Linked DNA regions of Homo sapiens: region 1 is linked to region 2. Evidence: promoter capture Hi-C in human tissues and cell types (Jung and others, 2019). All regions are on one chromosome and are shown on one strand. The core of a region is centred on a gene start or on the middle of the fragment in contact, and the rest is flanking DNA. Distances in the headings are between cores, read along the strand shown.

Evidence for each region. The method cuts DNA at HindIII sites, captures the fragments that hold promoters and counts their contacts. A contact is called where the count stands out against the background at its distance.
Region 1: a contact is called between a fragment that was not itself captured here and the fragment with the promoter of DRG1 in region 2, in 1 of the 25 tissues and cell types used here (dorsolateral prefrontal cortex).

The regions. Positions count from the first base shown.
Region 1 is chr22:31,115,133-31,118,385 of GRCh38, forward strand. The region is part of intron 1 of LOC105372995 (a long non-coding RNA gene); the gene reads right to left. Among named protein-coding and RNA genes, the nearest start is that of INPP5J, 6.2 kb to the right of the region's middle. The HindIII fragment of the contact is 5,360 bases long and covers 1-3,253 here.
Region 2 is chr22:31,398,327-31,401,603 of GRCh38, forward strand. DRG1 (developmentally regulated GTP binding protein 1) reads left to right here and starts at 1,278. Exons shown (of 9, transcript NM_004147.4): 1 at 1,278-1,399; 2 at 2,294-2,417. The coding sequence starts at 1,358. RefSeq lists a silencer at 938-1,217 and enhancers at 1,305-2,210, 1,338-1,387. The HindIII fragment of the contact is 5,082 bases long and covers 1-3,277 here.

The DNA.
Region 1 (3,253 bases), core at 236-2,735, 280 kb before region 2:
AGTATGAATTCACCCTGGCTTTCTGAAGGGCAAAATCAAAACTCTAAAAACTTTTTTTGACCCAGTAATTCCATTTTTCAGAATTAGCCCCAAAGTAATCATCAGAGAGAGGATTGTTAGGTCAAGCTTGTTTATTAGAATACCATTTATCGTGGTGAAGAACTGGGGATATAACCTAAGCATGTCACAGCAGGGGATGAGTTAAATTAATGAGTGTACCTCCATAGGATGGAAAACCATGCAATTGTTAAAAATGATGCAGCAGGCTGGGCGTGGGTGGCTCACGCCTGTAATCCCGGCACTTTGGGAGGCCGAGGTGGGCGGATCACCTGAGGTCAGGAGTTTGAGAGCAGCCTGGCCAATATGGTGAAGCCCCATCTCTACTAAAAATATAAAAATTAGCTGGGCATGGTGATGGCTGCCTGTAATCTCAGCTACTTGGGAGGCTAAGGCAAGAGAATTGCCTGAACCCAGGAGGCAGAGGTTGCAGTGAGCTGAGATCGCACCACTGCACTCCAGCCTGGGCGAGTGAGACTCTATCTCAAAAAAAAAAAAAAAGATGCAGCATAGATGGAATGACATGGAGAATGTTCGTGGTTATGGTATTAAATAGCAAGAAAAAAGCAACAAAAACAGTAATCTGGTAATATCAATTGGGAGTTGTGATGCTGTGGGCTGCAAGTCATAGAAACCCCAATTTAAACTGGCTTAAACAATAAAGGGAGCTGGTTGTGGTGGCTTGTGTCTATAAACCCAGCTACTCAGGAGGCTGAGGCAGGAGGATAACTTGAGGCCAAGAGTTCCAAACTATCCTGGACAACATAGTGAGAACCCATCTCTAAAAAAAGATATTTAAAATCTAGCCAGGCATGGCAGTGCCTGTAGTCCCAGCTACCCCAGAGGCTGAGGTGGGAGGACTGCTTGAGCCCAGGAGTTCAAGACTACAGTGAGCTATGATCATGCCACTGCACTCTAACCTGGGAGACAGAGTGAGACCCCATCTCCTATAAAAAATAAAAAATAATACAGTGAGCCAAGATCGTACCACTGCACTCTAGCCTGGGCAATGTGAGTAAGACCCTGTGTCAAAAAATAATAAAAATAAAGGGGCTGGGCCCAGTGGCTCATGCCTGTAATCCCAGCACTTTGGGAGGCCGAGATAGGCAGATCACTTGAGGTCAGGAGATGGAGACCAGCCTGGCCATCATGGTGAAACCCCCTCTCTACTAAAAACACAAAAACTAGCTGGGCATGATGGTGCACACCTGTAATCCCAACTACTTAGGAGGCTGAGGAAGAGAATTGCTTGAGCCCGGGAGGTGGAAGTTTCAGTGAGCCAAGATTGCGCCACTGCACTCCAGCCTGGGTGCCAGAGCGACACTCAGTCTCTAAATAAATAAATAAATAAAGGGACTCTGTTGGCTCAAATAATTTTAAAAGTCCAGGACAGGCACAGTGGCTGACGCCTGTAATCCCAGCAATTTGGGAGGCTGAGGCGGGCAGATCACCTAAGGTCAGGAGTTTGAAACCAGCCTGGCCAACATGGCGAAACCCCGTCTCTACTAAAAATACAAAAATTAGCCAAACGCAGCGGTGGGCACCTGTAACTCCAGCTACTCGGGAGGCTGAGGCAGGAGAATCGCTTGAACCTGGGTGGCGGAGGTTGCAGTGAGCCAAGATCGTGCCACTGTACTCCAGCCTGGGCGACAGATTGAGACTCCATTTCAAAAAGAAGAAAAAAAAAGTCCAATGGCAGGTGGGGCTTCAGGTGAAGTTTGATCCAGTTAATGAAGTCACCAAAGCCTGGTGTCTCTCCATTCTGCTTTCCATAATGTCAGTTTATCAGTAGGCCAATTTTCTACATGGTGTAAAGATGGCTGCCAGCAGTAACTAGAGCCATTGGCCTCTTCATTTACATCTAATGGAAGGAAGATCATCTTTTTTGGCAGCCTCCTCAGGAGAGAAAATAAGCTTCCTTTCCCAAAAGCCCTGAGCAAAAATTTCCTTGTATCTTGCTAGTTCATTCGTGATCTAATCATGTGCCTGGGGAAATGGGAATTGCTTACTGGCTTAACCAACTGGGACCCATTCCTGAAGCTGAGGGTGGGGTCCACCATATTCCAGTTCCTGTTAAGAAGGAGATGGGCTGCAACCTTAACAGGATCCTAACCCTAACCCTAACCCTACTGTGTTGCTGGACATTGTGGCAGCAACACAGTAACCAACCAATTCTATAAAACATGTATAGGCCCAGTCTTGGTGGCTCACGCCTGTAATCCCAGCACTTGGGAGGCCAAGGCATGTGGATCACTTGAGTCCAGGAGTTCAAGACCAGCCTGGTCAACAAGGCAAAACCCTGTCTCTACTAAAAATACAAAATTAGCTGGGCATGGTGGTGCATGTCTGTAATCCCAGCTACTCGGGAGGCTGAGGCAGGAGAATTGCTTGGACCAGAGGTGGAGGTTTCAGTGAGCTGAGATCATGCCACTGCACTCCAGCCTGGACGACAGAGTGAGACTCCATCTCAAAAAATAGATATAGCTATATAAAATATATAACACGTATATGTAAATATACATGTATATAAATATATATGCATATTATATACAACATGTATATAAATATATATGCATATTATATACAACATGTATATATAAATATATATGCCTAGACCCCCGCCCCCACCAAAAAATATCTATAAGGAAACAAACCAATAAGTCAGAACGATTATTTCTTGGTGGATGAAATTATAGGTAAATGTTTTCCTTCTGTGTTTTGTGTAATGGGCATGGATTACCTAAACACAAACAGTAAACTTTATTTACGAAAATAATGGGACATACCCCACTATTTCCTTCTACTCCAACCCCTACCCCAGCAAGGGCCTCAGAGTAACTGAAGCCAGAGGCCCCACGGAGTCGTTCTTGCTGCTGACAGAGCCAAACCCCAGTACCCCATGGGCCCTGGTTGTTTGCTGGACAGATGCCACCAAACCACTCTCATTGCATTAGCCTGGATGCTGTGGCCCCTAAAGGCCACAGCTTGGGCTGCTGAGGGTTGACCAACCAGCCAGTGGAACCAGTGGTGGAGACTGTGACCATAACAGTACCAGGAAGGAACACTGTGGCATCAGCAGCATGAGAAGCCCAAGATCTCCCAAGACAGATCTCTGCCCATAATCCATGCCTCTTATGTGGCAGCATGTAATTTAGGCCAGCAGTCTTCCTCAAGTGGGGCCAAGGTTGGGGATTAG
Region 2 (3,277 bases), core at 28-2,527:
ATGCACAAGAAAACCTCCCTTTTTTGTCTCTGGGAAGTTAGAATAGTTCTTGTTTACAAATTTAACTAAATTAAACTTCCCTCCCAGGGCTGGGTGGAGGCCAGCCCTGTGGGTTAAGCCTGGCCTGTCGACTGTGGGTTAAGCCTGGCCTGTCGACTCCCGCTGGAATAATCAATCTATCAAAACAACCCATTGATCCTGAGGCAAACCGCTTTCAAAACCACCACATAGTTCCTGGACGTCCTGGCTTCCTCATGACACTTGGGGAAGAGGAGTCTTTTGAAATTTTAAATTTTATTATTACACAAGTAATACATGGATACATTCGTCTTGTAAAAATTTAACTTCAAAATTCTGTGGAATAAAATGTGAAAGGCCTTTTCTTTGCATCCCATCCCACAGTTAAGAGCTTCTGATGTATTTTTCTGTTTAGGCCTTTAAACTGCACGTTCATACACGTACACCTATATAAATGTACATTTAATTTTAAAAATAACATAAATGGTATCACTACGTAGGTGCCCTTCTGCTAGTTGTTTTCCCATTTAACATGTCCTGGGTAGCCAGTCAGACCACAGATCTACGTTTTAACGGCTGTAATCATATTTCAAAAACAGGATAGAGGCATTATTCATTTATCCATTTTCCTACTGATGGGTGTTAATATAGATTTCAATTTTTTGGTATTACAAACTATGTTGCAAGCAGCAGTTCTCTGGGAATTATCCATTCAAGTATGCACTTATTTTGGGCTCCCCATGTGCTCTACTCGGGGTTCGGAGTAAACAAAACCGACCTAAAAATAATTTTGAATGATAGAAAGGGGGCATTTTCTTTATCCAAGGGGGTGAGGCAGGCTGAAGATGGGTCTCTACTCCCTCCAAGACCATGGAGGGCGTCGGGGTGTCACCCCAGCTGTGAAAAAGGGACCCAGGACCCGCAGATGCTGGCGAGGAACAGGGGTGCGGAGCATGAGTCGGCTTTGCACCACGCCCTGGGGTCTCCAGCACTGAAGCGTTCAGTACCATGCAGAGCAGCTGGGAGCGGGTCCCGCTGGGCGGGGCCGAGCTGCGCGCGACCCTCGGCGCGCTCGGGGAGGCCCAGACAGGGGTGGCCTCTCTGGCCTCCGCTCCCGCGGGCTCTATGACACCGCACTGGCTCGCGGGACGGGGCGGGGTCGGGTGAGGGGGAGGAGACAGCCCCACGCTTTGCGACTCGCGGTGACCCCTACGCGGAACTCTCTCGCGGTAATTCGAAGTACCGCGCCTGCGTGCTGCAGTAGCGCCTGGTGGCGGTGGCAGTTTGCCCGCGGGTGTGTGAAGGGAGACAGTGTGGAGGCCACAGGGTACTCGCCACGATGAGCAGCACCTTAGCTAAGATCGCGGAGATAGAAGCAGAGGTAATGGACGCAGCTGGCGGTTCACTCTTAGTCTGAGCATTCCTTCTTTGGTGGCGTCGCTCCTTCCTGTTCTCCTTTGAGCCGCGTCAGGACCGGGCCTAGATTCCGCGACTTCTCTCAGCGAGGCCCGTGTTCCGACTGCCCTCTGCCACGATTAGGAGTCCCCGACTCTCCTCAGTCAGGGCCCCCTTTCCCCTCGTCCCGCGTCTACGCTCTCGGACTCCCCTTTGCCCGGGCCCGCGTTCCGCACCCCTGCACCTTAGGCCCTTAGTCCGTTCCCCCTCCCAGTGTTTGGCTCCTGTTCTGATGTTGTTTCTTTCCGTTTTGCTCTGAGAAACACTGAATCCTGTCCCTTATTCCATCTCTGACTTGGTCAGATAGTTCAGGATCTTTCCTCATCATCCTTCGCTGCGTCCCCCTTATTCCCCCTTTTCCCAGTGTCTACCCTAATGACCCCCTGATTCAGAGTATTTGCTCCCGGTAATCGGATCTGGAAGTAAAATGACATCTGTGTGGGAGCAGTTTATTCCGCCTGGATAGTGTGTGATTCCATTGCGTGCGGCCCTGAGAGCGCTTTACAATTAGGAAAGTGGTGTCCCAGTGTTAGATGGATCCAAACAGCTGCAAATAGTAGAAAAGGAACCCGCAGACGGGTTTCAGTCTAGTCTGGGGGCACTAATTGGAATGACCTTAATCGTCTTTCCTCTTTGGGCTTTGCTTTGCTTTGTAGTGAGGGAAATGAGCTGGATGGAGGAGATAATGGACTTTTACTCTTTTAAAGCCTGTAAACTGGGTGTGCTAACATTAGTAGGACTTGGGGAAAAAAATTATCCTCTCAAAGCTGGGGGAAGCGTTCACTGCTTCTAATTTATGGCTGTGATTCCTCCCTTTTAGATGGCTCGGACTCAAAAGAACAAGGCCACAGCACACCACTTAGGGCTGCTTAAGGCTCGTCTTGCTAAGCTTCGTCGAGAACTCATTACTCCAAAGGGTGGTGGTGGTGGAGGTCCAGGAGAAGGTTTGTGTTCTTCTTCAATATATATATTTTTAGGTATAATTTTTGTCAAAATAGTACATACATGTGGTTTAAAAATAACTAAAGATGGCCCAGTGCAGTGGCTCAACGCCTGCAATCCTAGCATGCTGGGAGGCTGAGATAGGAGGATCACTTGAGGCCAGGAGTTCAAGACCAGCCTGATCAACATAGACCCCCATCTCAAAAAAAAAAAAAAGTTTTTTAAAAACAGAAAAATAACTAAAGATGTTCTACTAAAGTAGATTTATATTTTCTAAGCATGAATTCTTGAACTGTGTTTATTTTTATTCTGCCGGTTTCAGAGGCAAATGAATATTGTCTAAGTGTACTGTAGTTTTATTTATATCCTGCACTGATACAAAATAGATTTACATGCGCTGGGTGCAGTGGCTCACCCTTGTAATTCCAGCACTTTGGGAGGCTGAGGCGGGAGGATTGCTTGAGGCCAGGAGTTCGGAACCAGCAAAGCCCTGTCTCTATGGGCTTAGAAATGAGGGGTCCCCATAGGTATGAAAGAAGATGTACCAAAAAAAAAAAAAGGCTGGGTGCGGTGGCTCACGCCTGTAATCCTAGCACTTTGGGAGGCCAAGGCGTGGATCACGAGATCAGGAGTTCAAGACCAGCTTGGCCAGCATGGTGAAACCCCATCTCTACTAAAAATACAAAAATTAGCTGGGCATGGTGGCGCATGCCTGTAATCCCAGCTATTTGAGAGGCTGAGGCAGGAGAATTGCTTGAATCGGGACCCAGGAGGCAGAGGTAGCAGTGAGTGAGATTGTACCACTGCACTCCAGCCTGGGCTACAGAGCTAGACTCTGTCTCAAAAAAAAAAAAAAAAAAAA